Linked DNA regions of Homo sapiens: regions 1, 3 and 4 are each linked to region 2. The links are contacts of gene promoters, found by promoter capture Hi-C in blood cells and fetal thymus (Javierre and others, 2016). All regions are on one chromosome and are shown on one strand. The core of a region is centred on a gene start or on the middle of the fragment in contact, and the rest is flanking DNA. Distances in the headings are between cores, read along the strand shown.

Region 1 (3,141 bases), core at 372-2,871, 290 kb after region 2:
GTACTATAGTACTAGTTGCTTTTGATGATTGGCACATAATACTGAAAGAAGGGAAAGCTTGAATACTTGAATGACTGTCCTTCCTTCTAGGTGTCCAGGTGGACAAAAGAGTGGTTAAGAGACCAGGCTGTGAAGACAGACTGCCTGGGCTCAAGTTTCCAATCCATACCAGACTATAAACTGCATGATGACAGGGACTTTGTTTGCATCCTTCCCTATTACATTCCTGTCCCCTGAACAGTACCTGGCCCAGGGTAGTCACTCAGTAAATATTTGTTGAAAGAATCAACAGTACCTCCCAAAGAAGACTGCTGAATGTACTTAAACTATTAAGTAGAATATCTGGCATTGAGTAAGGGCTCAACAAATGTTGGCTACTCTCCTTATTACCATTATCCTTTAACATTTCAGTTTAGGCATAATCTCCTCCAATAACAAGGTGTTATTTCCCATATTCCATGGTAATACTTATATCATGGGATGCATGACAACCTAAGATACTTGTAGGCTTATTTTCTTTCTCCTCATGAGTGCCTGAAGGGCAGGGACTGCGTCCATGGAACCCTAGCCCCACAGTGTTCTGGTCCTGGCACACATTTTCTCTAACAGATGATTATTTGCTATCTGCTAGATGCAGACAGAGTGCAGGCTGTAATCAGACAAAAACAAGAGGATGATAGCCTAGGCAGTAGAAGGGCAAGTGACTCAACAATCAGAGGACAGTATGTCATGTCTACATTGTGCCATGTAAAACACAGCCCACAAGAAGAGTATTTAAATCACAGCGGAAGGTTAGGAAATGTTCTCAAGAAGGCAAAGCCTGAATTGAGTTTTATGATAGAAGCAGTTAATCCAGATGAGAAAGGGAGAAAGGCATTCCTGTAGGTGGTGTTTGTAAATGACTGGAAGCTGCTCACCATGCCATATTTATGTGGCCGGCACGTAAATATTAATTCAAATTAAAGAATCAAAGAAAGCAAAGCAAGGAAAGAAAGCAAAACTAAGTGAATAGAGATCACATGAGCATCACACAGGTATTAGGAGAGAGCAAAGAACACAGCCTCGGCTTGGAGGGGCAGCAGAAGATGAAGCTAGAGAAGGAGGCAAGGGCCAAATCATGAGGGCTTGGCGGGAGCAGCAGGGTAGTAGGAAGGGAAACTGGAGAATAACCAGGAGCTACTGAATAATTTTAAACAACAGAGTGACAAGATCAGATCTGCTTTTTAGACAAATCCCTCTGGTGGCAATTCATTCATTCATTATTCATTCATAGTTCAAATAAGTGTTGACAACCAATTCTATGCCTAACACTGGGCTAAATACATGGCTAAACTGTCTGAATCCAAGACGGCTTCGAGTGGAGCAAAAACAAAAGGCTAGAAACCAGTTAGGCAATCCCAGTTACCATCTGGGTGAGAATAATGATTGGGATCATAGCCCAGGCTATGGCAATGGGCACAGGAGAAGACACAAGAGTTCACAGGGAGGGAGAATCTGCAGGACCTAACAAATGATTATGGGGGAGGGGAGTGTGCAGTGCCTGGGGTGCTTGTTGAAACACAGATTGTGGAGCTCACCCCAGTTTTTGATTCAGTGGGTCTGAGGTGGGGCTCAAGAATTTGCATTTCTAACAGGCTCCCATGTGATGCTACTGCTTCTGGTCCAGGAACCACACTTTGAGAACCACTGGTCTGGATTAAGTATAGGTCCTGACCAGAGCAGCAGGGTGAATGGTGGCACCATTCACCAAAGCAGGGACTTCATGAGGAGATTGGGCATTTCACAAATATCTGCAGAATAATTGTATCCATAAGCTATATACAAATATCTACAGATAACAGTTTAAAGTCATATTCACTTTTACTGAATTAGCTTTTGGCAACACATTTTGTTTTTTATTTTTCTGTTTCTATAGTCACCAAACTAAATTCTTACCTATTATCTGGTTTCCCAAATAAGCCTACCTACCAGGTCAAGGTGTGCAGATGACTGTGCAGATGACTAACAGTAGTTACTTTGCTAGACACAGCTCCTTCCATAAATTAACAGACTGACATGCTACTCTACACATCGCTGAGTTTAATGGGATTAATCTGTTTCCTAGTGGCTGTATCTGGGAAGCTAGTAAACAGTTTGTAAATCTGCAAGGCCCATTTCCCTAAATCTTCCTTATGACTATGGCTCTGGCAGCAGCAACTAAGTCAAGAACTAATAACAGCATTTGGAAAAGAATGGTGTAGACAACCCCGGCAATCCTGTAGTGCCCTAGAACCAAATGGGAATGAGTCCTAATATCTGGACTCTCGACACTTTTCAGGGCACTCCCCCAATCACCTGGGCAGCATTCTGGCCATAACAATACTTGTCTATACTCTTGGATCACATAAGGAAGATCATATAATCATATGATTGAAAACAACACTTAAGTGTTTTTAGAATGTGGTATACTTTGTTAGTCAAATACTCAATTGGGCACCATAAATTAGCTAACAAATAAGCAAATGAACTGCAACATTAACACTGATGGTTAAAATTGCCACCTGCCAGATGAAGCCTCCACTGAGTCTCCTTAAAGTCTGCTTCAAACTGAGAAGCCAACATTCCACAGAATGAAAGCAGTCTTTGCATGAATATATACACATTGTGTTAGTGTATATACATAAAATATGTCGACTCCTCAACAAAAATGCTGTATGTACAGGCAACATCAGTTTGGGACATAAGAATCAAATATTTCAACATCTTTATTCACCAAAACCGAGGATCAGAAACAAGACTAAATGGACCTGTAGCCTATCACAAGAAAGTTCCTGAATCAAAAGATATTGATTTCAGTTGACAGACTGTCTATATTATAATAAAAATATTCCAACATACTTACGGAATTTTGAGGATTCAGTTTCATTTTCATCCCTCGTATCATCTCAAAATCTTTCAGAGTTCTATAAAACAGGTTTATCATTACTTGTTAGGACAAAATTTTAACAATTACATTATGAAAGGACTAGTTTGCTTATGTTACATTCCAATATTCATAAGATTAGATACAATTAGTAGTGCACACATAAATCACTATTAATCCAAATTTTACCTAAGTGTCATGAGAAATAACAATATATAAAGCAGCATATTACTGCGATT
Region 2 (3,312 bases), core at 200-2,699:
TGGTCTGCTTTAAGGAAGTCCTTAAGCATCACACCTGCCAGTTCAAATACTATTTGAGCCCTGTGCATTTTTGAGAAATGATGTATAAGTAGAAAAATTATACAAGAAACATGGAAAAATCAACAGGACTATTTAAATGTTATACAGAACTTATGAACAGTTCAAACTAAATATTTTGCTATTAAAATTATTCAAGAATCATAGAAATCTGGAAATAAACACTTCATAAATAACGTTTTCAAATATCGCGTCAGGAAAAATTAGACAAAACCAGTTAAGGAGGGAAGTTACATTGAAAAAGACTGAGTTCTACTATCCCCTAAGTTTTGCAAAAATATTTTTAACTTACTTTCTAAAAGTTAGTGAGTTTCCATTATAAAATAGAAAAATTGTCTTCATTCCATGAAAGAACTGTCTGAAAATCAGAAAAGCACCATATCCTGGATTTCAAGGAAGATGAAACTTCTTCTTATCTTCTATTTTACTAAATACTCAAAATAAAATAATCATATTGTATTGAATCTGACATTGTTAAGGAAAATAGCTTAAAATTTTTAAATAATGAGCAATATATTTAATTTTAAAATACGAAGAATTAGGCTAAGGTGGTAATTTTTTAGTGAGTTGAAAGTCCAAACTATGAGTTCGGAAGAAACAGCCCTAAAAGGCAAATAACATGGCTTTGGAATAATCACAGGGCAAATGCTTTGTTCTACATAATTCTTCTTTTGTGAATTTTAAAATGCTCAACAAGTATTAATGAAATATGTCTAAGAAGTAGATATTGCTTTAAAATCTAATTTCCAGAGTCCCGAACTAAGGCAAAGATTGAGATTAAGTCTCCGCCCAAAGTCTTAAGTGAGCCAGTGGAAGATGGCAGTTTATTCATGAATTGTTGGTTATCTGCTGCTTAACTACTTAACACAACCCGGTTTGATTGGTAATCAGATCCTAATAATGTATGTTTCAAAGAAAGGGCAGTTTCCTTAAAATCCTTAAAGACTTGTCACTTTGAAAACTGGAATCAAAATGTGAAAATGTTATCGGTCCATCTGGCAGTGTCCTTGGGTGTTTTTTAGAGTGGTCTCATAGTGCTATTTAACTATGCTGAATATTTGACACCCAGTCTCTGTAGGAAATTGTGATTTTTATCAGCGAAGAGGCAATTAAATGCTGTCATTTGGCACGTCCATCCATCAGGGATCTTATCACCCAAGAAGCATCCAGCAGCAGTTGCTGTCCTTTCCAGCTGGCAGACAGATAACAGAAACTGTCCTGTGTGAGGCACAATAGTCTAACATGATTAGAAATCAGCCAAACTCTGGCTTCTCTTGAGCTATACTCCCCCACAGGCTGAATTATAGCTCTCCTACCAGTCCCACGGCGCTGAATGATGTCATGGGATCTGCAGTTCAGCGAGATGAAAGGGATAAAGCAGAACCCGCTGGCACTAGGAAAAGCTTCCAACACACAGTCCACAACACAGCTTGGGAACCAAAAAAGCTACAGATCCAGCCACTCAGCCCAAGCATGGGAGAACTACCAGCATTGCCTCATTGCAAAAAAGAGGAGGAAAACAACGTGATCCATGTTTAACAAAAGAGTCTGTGGACTAGGAGGTGGGAGGGTAACTACCTGCTGAAAGTGAACTTTCTTTGATATCCATGCATATATATAAACTCAGCCCTGCCTTTGATGTTCAGCAACTGATTCACTGATCAGATTACAGGCATTTCATCTCCCTGCTCGTCTGCCTTTGATCTGCATGGTTAATTTTATTTTCCTGGATTTGAAGTTTCGTCTGGGCTTGTGCTGACATACATTTTTGGGAAGGTAGAAGCATTTGGCACAGAAGTGCTGCCAGGAGAAACTAAGTTGCTGAACGGGTAAGTACTGCAAAGAGCTCAGCATGTTGCAGGTACTCTGTTTTAAGCTTTGTTATAGCTTTCACTGCATTTTTCGCATGTGTTCTGAGAAAAGAATGGTTTTAATTAATTTTTTAGAAAGCATTTATACAGCTGAATACTACATGATGCTGAATGTGTGTATCAGAGTAACTATGGAACTTGATGTAATTTTTAGTAGTTTGTACAAGAGGGTTTGCAGTCTGTCATACAAATTTTACTTGGAAATGAGTTGTACAAACAGGACAAAACAGAACAGCGCTCACTTTAGCATGCAACTGGTACTTCAACCCCTGAGATCTGTGAGCTATAATTGCTCTAAGTATTTACAGGTTACCTTATTTAGTAAACAGTCAGTGCAACTTTGCTTGTTGAAAATGCTTTCTTTGTTTTCTTATATAAAAGAGTAAAATGTATCTCTGGCAATACTGTTTCTTTAGTTTATTTATTCTCTCACTTCCAAGATGTAAATCTATCAAATACACTTCCTTATGCAGTTTGTACACTCAAGGGAATCACTGAAAAACCATCAAGTATGATTAAAGACTTTTATGTGTAAAACTGAAGAATTTAAAAACAGTGAGGATAAAGTTGCACTAAGTTTGGCTAAAAATACTCCAGTGATTTTCTATAACCTTTGGAAATAGCATAAGCCTTATTTACAGAAACATTCACAAGGTTAATATTCCTAAATTAACATTTACTTTACATTTATAGTGACAGCTGTTTTAAGTCAAAATTTGCCAACTGTTTATGAAAACTATCTGAGTAATCAACAGTTATTATGTTACATAAAGTATCTTAGTCACATTTTCACTTTAGCTAATGCCCAACATGACAAAACCAAATTATATTGCTGTACCGAATTTGAAAGTTAACTGTTATTTTTTTGTCAGTTCATGATACACACACACTCACGCTCACACACACACACAGTAAAATCTTTACAGTGAAATATAAAAACTAAATACAATGGAAAAGTAACACTGTTACTTTGTTCGCGATGTTTTTTTTTTTAATGTTCTAGTCCTAAATTTATCTGGGCAAAATATTTAATTATTATCACAAGTCTATTTGATGCTAGCTGAACCATAAAGAAACCATAAGTGATAAGACCAGTTATCCTTTAGTCTGAAATTCTGATGAAACAGGAAAGGTCTAATGAGTCTCATTTCATAAGTAATTAATTTTTCACAGCCAATTAATTAAATTACTTTCTACACTTTCCTCTTGATACTAGAAGGGTAATTAGCATTGTTTATTTAATTTTAAAACTTTGCTAGTTGTTAAGTGGAGGTTATTTAAAGCCATGCTAAACTGATTATATTTTTAAAGTGTGTCATTAATAACTTAATCTTAAAGATTTAACTGCTGTTTTTAGTCATGCCAGGAGAGGCATTTGCTTTTT
Region 3 (3,418 bases), core at 395-2,894, 340 kb after region 2:
TCCCAAGAAATAGTGCATAACAATACATTTTTCTCCCCACCTCTCTCTGTATATTAGGCTGACAGTATATCCTGTCTGTATGTGAATAAGAACAGTGAGCATTCTCCAACATGTGTCTATCTAATTTCTCTTGTTTAAAAACAGAAAAAAAAACCTCTAAAAAATGGAGTTATAGAAGGTCAGCCCAGGGTGGGTTTGAGATGTTTTGGTGGGCTAAACGGGCAATTTTATAACATGGCTTCTCCTATGCCTTGTTTGTGATGTTTAATGAATATCCTTGCAGTTTAAGATGACACTTTTAAAATACATTGTCTCCTAATGATGGCTTGAACTCTGTTGCTAAACAGGAGAATCAGGATCTCATTTGGAATTGACATTGTCTATTGTAGTTTTGTTTTTGTTTATTTTTAAATTTTCTTTTTGTTTTACTGGAAAGATGCTAGTTTTAAATGTTAAAAGTATACAAGTTATTACAATCAAACTAGATGTGTACACACAAAGAAAATTAAATAAGTTGATGTAACGGTGCTTGTAATTCAAAAATATAAAGGTTTATCTTATGTTAATTTCCTATCTTTTCCCATTTTACAAATTTTGTAAGTTGAGTATTTATCTAATCAAATATAATTTAAACACAGAAAAATAGAATAATGTTGTGTTCTGGTCCTAGAGCAGGATTGGTAAACTTTTCTGTAAAGGATCAGATAGTATTATGTGAGGCTTTGTGAGCAATAGGATCTCTGTTGCAACAACTCAACTCTCTAGTTACAGTACAAAAGTAACCATAAACAATATGCAGATTGAAGAGGTGTGGCTGTGTTTCGATAAAATTTAGTTACAAAAGCAGGTGATGGGCAGGTTTGTACTAGATTATAAGTAGAGTTTATTATTATGATTATTTGTTTTAGTTGCAAGAAGCAAAGGATCAAATCACAGATGTTACAGGAGGTGCTGAAAAGACTCAAGACTACATGCAAAAGCATAAGTTAAAGTAACTTGAGTATTTATAAAGCAAATAAACAATGTAGTATGATAATTGTATGAGTGAGGATAATAAGCGCATCTGTGTGAAGCCAAGGATAAAGTTCACCTTTAAGCTATTTTGAAATGCATAATTTTTGTACGTTATTCCTAAATTTTGCACATTACCCACAAAATATAGGTAGAAAAATGATACAGTCTCCCAATCATCTATTTTTCAACTCTTTAAGAATTTACATAATCATAGATGCTTAGAAATTATGTGATATTTTAGAAATGTATCTTTGAGGATAATTATTTTAAAATCTACCTTTTAGGCTTAATATAAAAAATTTCCAAGTAAAAATTCCAGTCAAAAATCAAGTGGAAAAAAATGAACAGTTTGAGAAAAACCGGTTAAGTCCAAGTTTGGTAAGTCAATTTTTAAATTTCTGTCATACTGAATAGAAATTTTATTTTTCTAGTAAGACAGATTGAATATCCCTTATCCAAAATGCTTGAGACCAGAAATGTTTCAAATTTTGTATTCTTTTGATTTTAGAATATTTGTGTATACTTAATGAAAGATCTTAGGAATGAGACCCAAGTCTAAACACAAAATTCACTTACATTTCATATATACCTTATACACATAGCCCGAATTTTATACAGGATTTTATAAAATAATTTTGTGCATGAAACAAAGTTTTGACTGTGTTTTGCTGTTGTTCTGTCACATGAGGTCAAATGTGGAATTTTCCACTTGGGGCATTATGTCTGCATTCAAACAGTGTCAGATTTTGGAGCTTCAGGTTTTTAGAGTAGAGATTTTCAACCCATAGTACAGAAGCTCCTCAACTTATGATGGGGTTACATCCCAATAAAGCCATTGTAAATTGAAAGCATTGTAAGATGAAAATGTATTTAATATACCCAACCTACCAAACATCACAGCCTGGCCTACCTTAAACATTATCCGATCACTTACATTAGCCTACTGGTGGGCAAAATCGTCTAACACAAAGTCTTATAATAAAGTATTATATATCCCATGTACTGCGTATTGCCAACCTGGGAAAAGATCAGGATTCAAAATTCAAAATTCAGACTGTGTTGAAATTGCAATAGTTTCACACCATGGTGAAGTCAAAAAATTACAAGTTGAACCATTGTAAGTTGGGGGTCTATCAGTATATAAGAATATTTCAGACAATGTGAAAAGTCTCATTGATAAAAAAATATTTTATTCATATTGATACTACTTGCCACTAGTAGTGCAATCTTCTTGACTTCATAGAATAAGTTGACTGAATTCATAAAGTTAATGATTTTGATAAAAGTCACATTTTAATAAAAGAGATTATGATAGTCTAAAATCAATATTTTATACCTACTTTTTTTTTTTTTTTTTTTGAGACAGAGTCTCGCTCTGTCGCCCAGGCTGGAGGGCAGTGGCGCCATCTCGGCTCACTGCGAGCTCCTCCTCCCGGGTTCACGCCATTCTCCTGCCTCAGCCTCCCGAGTAGGTGGGACTACAGGTGCACGCCACCGTGCCCAGCTAATTTTTTGTATTTTTAGTAGAGACGGGGTTTCACCATGTTAGCCAGGACGGTCTCGATCTCCTGACCTCGTGATCCACCTGCCTCGGCCTCCCAAAGTGCTGGGATTACAGGCGTGAGCCACCACGCCTGGCCTATATATACATTTTAAAAAAATTTATTCATGCATCGAGGGAAAGTTGGGTTATTTCCATCTTTTGGCCATTAGAAATAATGCTGCTAATGGATACTACTTCATTATACAAGTATTTTTTCCCCTACAGCATGTGTTTTTCTTACTGCAAGTTAAAAAAAAAAGAAAAGAGATGCCAGTGAAAAAGTAGAAATGGGTGCTCCAGGAGGGCCTTAGGGAGTAACATAGTCCTCCTAACATAATGTTCAGAAAGTAATCTTTTTCCATTCACCTGTGTTCATCAGCCTTTCAAAGCCTTAACAGTCCAATCGCAGAAAAGATGGATACATACTCTAGGATATCAATTTATTGATGTAGAGTGAAAACTATATAAATGATAACAAAGCAAAACAGAATTCTCCTGACATTCATGCTTTCCTTTGTAGGAATGAAGGTCAGAAAATTGTGTCATGAATACTAAATTGGAGCAATGAGGTAGATGCTCCTACTAACGAGTTTCCTTAAGTCACAATAGGAAGATTTATGCAATTTTATCATTCCGATTAAACCTATCAGGGAAACTAGAACTTTTGTAAGAACACTCACGACCTATTAAGCCTATGCAAAAATAATGAAGGTTTTTCTGTACATTTTCATAGAAATAAATTAGGAATATTGCATAGAATTATTAGCGACTTTAAAATCTACCCTATGAATTAAAAATCTAATAAGAGACAGCTTTCAACAAACTCAATCAATAGCCTCTATTTTCTGCAGAAAGTTCTCA
Region 4 (3,496 bases), core at 251-2,750, 270 kb after region 2:
TGGGAGGGCAAAGGAGAGCATGATGACTTTACTTGTGGAGTGCAGAGTAGCACCAGGGAAAGCTTCTCGGATAGGAATCAAGAAAGAATCGGCCGGGTGCTGTGGCTCACGCCTATAATCCCAGCACTTTGGGAGGCTGAGGTGGGTGGATCATGAGGTCAGGAGTTCAAGACCAGTTTGGCCAACATGGTGAAACCCCGTCTCTACTAAAAGTACAAAAATTAGCCGGGTGTGGTGGCGGGTGCCTGTAATCCCAGCTACTCGGGAGGCTGAGGCAGAGAATTGCTTGAACCCAGGAGGCGGAGGTTGAGTGAGCCACGATTGTGCCACTGCACTCCAGCCTGGGCGACAGAGCAAGACTCTCCATCTCAAAAAAAAAAAAAAAAAAAAAAGGAATCAGACTTTGCAAGGCAGGGCTGGGATGAGGAATGGAAAATGGGAATCATAATAGGAATTCTAGGCAGAAGCGACAGTATAACTAAAGTATGATGGCATAAAATAGCCTGGTAACTTCTAGAAAGGATGTGGTTAAAGATGAAGCAGTTACCAATGCAGGGATAAATGTAGAAAGAATGGGAGCGGAGTCTGGAAAAGGCAGGCAGGGGCCAGAAAACAGAGGGCCTGGTCCACTAAGCTGAGGAACTGGGACCATGCACCATAGGCCATGGCCTCTAAGCTTCCTCACCAATGCACACTAAAATAACTTTTGAGTATTCAACCTTCTATTAGTACACTCATAAAGTATATGCATGTGGTATTGTTTTATCACATTGCAAAAAGAAAAGCAGACATTTTTATAAGTTGAGATAAAGAAAAATAAATATACATAGAATTTCTAATATTTTATGACTACACTCTCAATGAATTGCTTACAGATGCCATTTGGGAGACAGCTTCTGTAGGCCATAGGGGAGCATCTGATGTTTTCTGGAATGCTGCACAGTGGACAGCATGGAGGGTGGAATGCAGGAGGCAGGGAGGGCTGACAGGAGGACAGACTTCCAGGCTTCAGAGGGTGAACTCTGACAGAGGGCAGTGGGGTCAGGGATGAATGTGTTTTTCCTTTGAGATGCAAACGTCTCAGGACTGTGTGAGTGATTGGATTTGGAGGGTGATGAGAAAGACAGAACAATCTAGAATAACACTCAGGTTTCTGGCTTGGACAAATAAGTGGATGGTAGAGTCACTGAATCAGCCGGCACAATGAACACAAAAAAGGAAGAGGGGAATCTGGGTGTGTTTGTGGGAGAAGAGAGGAGGGTGAGGTGCAATGATGGGAGGAGGATGGAGGGCTCACAGAAAATAAACTCCATTTTGGAGGAACCGACTGTGAAGTGCCCATGAGATACCAGACACTCAGGACCCAAAGCTAAGGAGAACAAGGAGACTTCACTGTACAGATATTAGAGCCATAGAGGGAGACAGGGCCATTAGGGAAGGGCGATGCGGGCAGAGAAGGTAAAGGGCAGACCCCTGAACTACCAGAGGGAGGGGTGGGAAGGAAGACACAGAACAGTTCAGAGGTACTGAAGAACTGAGAGAAAGGAGTGCATGGAAAGAGGGGAGAAAATAAACTATAAAAGGAAGTGGTCCAGGCTTGAGGTTTCCACTCCTGCACATGAGGAGGTTGAAAGTCACCACTCCATCCTAACAAGCAGGAAGCTGAACAAGCTGAAAATCAAGAATCTTCTTAGATTCAGCAGAGAATCAAGGCCACAGAGCAAACTGCTGCCCCCAAAACTGGAAAGAAAGGCAGGCAGCCATAGAGAATCACAGCTTACCAGAGCAGAAACCTCCCATAGAACCTACTACCAAGGCAAGAAAGTTTAAACTATAATTGGTTATAAAAAGCAATTCATTTTTTTGTTTCCAGACAATAAAAACACAAAAATAAAGGAGAATAAAAAGAAACTTTACATATTAAAATTCTACCCTTCTTAAGATTATAATGAACATTTATTTTTATGGAAAAGAAACACAGTAAAGCTAGTAACACAGCTTATTTTACTAAACTATAACCTAAAAATATTTACTGTCTTATCCAATGACCATGACAATCATTATGTGTTGGGCAAAATTCAAGGAAACAATTTATCTTGGAAAAAAAATTTAAGTATAGAATATAAGTTCATATAATATTACAATATTACCCTAAAATGATTGGGAACAAATGAATTTCTAAACTGCCTGTTTTAAAATAAAAACACCTCAAAAATATTAACAATGGGCAAAAAGTATACTGTCTTGTCCCCTGGCTCACTATGCCCACCCCCAGAGGTAAATATCTTGTGTATCCTTCCAGGCATTTCCTATGCACACTCTTAGAAGCTTATGCATGTAAACTTTATGTATATATAAACCTACTTTGGCACAAATAGAATCATACCATTCACACTATCTCGCAATTTTATTTAACATAAAAATATATCAATGATATGTATTTTTACACATATATTTTTCATAAAAATATAACTTGGAATACTTTCCAGTTTAGTATATAAAGCTCTAGCCTGTTTTCTTTCATGGGTGTAGTCATCCACAGCAAACACATGACAAAGCTCATTTCATGCATCTCCTGTTGTGTTGTACATGAGCAGAGGAGGCAAGGTCAATGAGAGCCTGAAGCATCAATGGGGGAAGCATCCGACCACTGACATCGTTTGGAATTTCCCACATATGGGGATATTAAAGGAACCCAGACTTTTCATCAGTTTTATTATTGATTTTAACTTTTTTACAGAAAATGCATCCCGTTAGGCCACACCCAGAGCTCACTTCCCTGCCTTGGTCTGCCTCTGTTCCTTTTAACTGACGGTAAGCTGCTGTTAGTTTATCTGTTAAAGTGATGCCATAGTGAAATGTCCTTGTCACACCCACACAAGCCTATCCATAAGATAAACTGAAGAAATGGCATTGCTGCAAAGAGTACAAGATCTTAAGTTTTTTGATATGTATTTCCAAATTATCCTCTAAAAAAAGCTGTTTCTAACTTACATTCCTACCTGCAGTGTATGAAAATACCTAGTGCTCTCACTCTCGCCAATGTAATTCTGTTACGTTTCTTTTAATGCTTCCTTTATTTTCCTTCTTTAGCTATGTGTGCTGCATTTCCTTTTTCTTTCTAATAATTTGATATATTAGTGATATTTATAGTCTATATTTTAGCTTCTCTGGTGGTTTCTCTATTGTTTTTAATTTTTTTTTTTTTTGAGACGGAGTCATGCTCTATCACCCAGGCGTGCAGTGGCATGATCTCAGCTCACTGCAACCTCCACCTGCTGGGTTCAAGCGATTCTCCTGCCTCCTAATTTTGATACTTTTGGTAGATACGGGCCTCTATTGGTTTTAAAATAAACATTTATTTATTGGTTTAGCAATTTTAGATAATATTTACTGATTCCCCTCCTCCTGCCTTGACCTCCTGATCTGTCTTGTTGTTACATATAGATATAGATATATTGATGCTCTTTTTCTTAATTTTGCTAGGCACCAGAGA

The links. Contacts are between HindIII fragments. The CHiCAGO score rates a contact against its expected background, and 5 or more counts as called.
Region 1: a fragment that was not itself captured here is called in contact with the fragment with the promoter of TNFRSF19 in region 2 in 13 of 17 cell types (erythroblasts, M2 macrophages, M0 macrophages and 10 more); the score reaches 16.6 in erythroblasts.
Region 3: a fragment that was not itself captured here is called in contact with the fragment with the promoter of TNFRSF19 in region 2 in 5 of 17 cell types (megakaryocytes, fetal thymus, erythroblasts and 2 more); the score reaches 6.8 in megakaryocytes.
Region 4: a fragment that was not itself captured here is called in contact with the fragment with the promoter of TNFRSF19 in region 2 in 9 of 17 cell types (erythroblasts, M2 macrophages, megakaryocytes and 6 more); the score reaches 11.4 in erythroblasts.

What each region holds. Positions count from the first base shown.
Region 1 is chr13:23,859,421-23,862,561 of GRCh38, forward strand. It overlaps MIPEP (mitochondrial intermediate peptidase), which reads right to left. Exons shown (of 19, transcript NM_005932.4): 9 at 2,882-2,942. Among named protein-coding and RNA genes, the nearest start is that of PCOTH, 28 kb to the right of the region's middle. The HindIII fragment of the contact is 3,133 bases long and covers 56-3,141 here.
Region 2 is chr13:23,568,963-23,572,274 of GRCh38, forward strand. It overlaps TNFRSF19 (TNF receptor superfamily member 19), which reads left to right and starts at 1,450. Exons shown (of 10, transcript NM_148957.4): 1 at 1,450-1,886. The HindIII fragment of the contact is 1,879 bases long and covers 1-1,458 here.
Region 3 is chr13:23,911,901-23,915,318 of GRCh38, forward strand. It overlaps the pseudogene ANKRD20A19P. Among named protein-coding and RNA genes, the nearest start is that of C1QTNF9B, 16 kb to the left of the region's middle. The HindIII fragment of the contact is 6,728 bases long and covers 1-3,418 here.
Region 4 is chr13:23,842,728-23,846,223 of GRCh38, forward strand. All of the region lies in intron 10 of MIPEP (mitochondrial intermediate peptidase), which reads right to left. Among named protein-coding and RNA genes, the nearest start is that of PCOTH, 44 kb to the right of the region's middle. The HindIII fragment of the contact is 1,652 bases long and covers 675-2,326 here.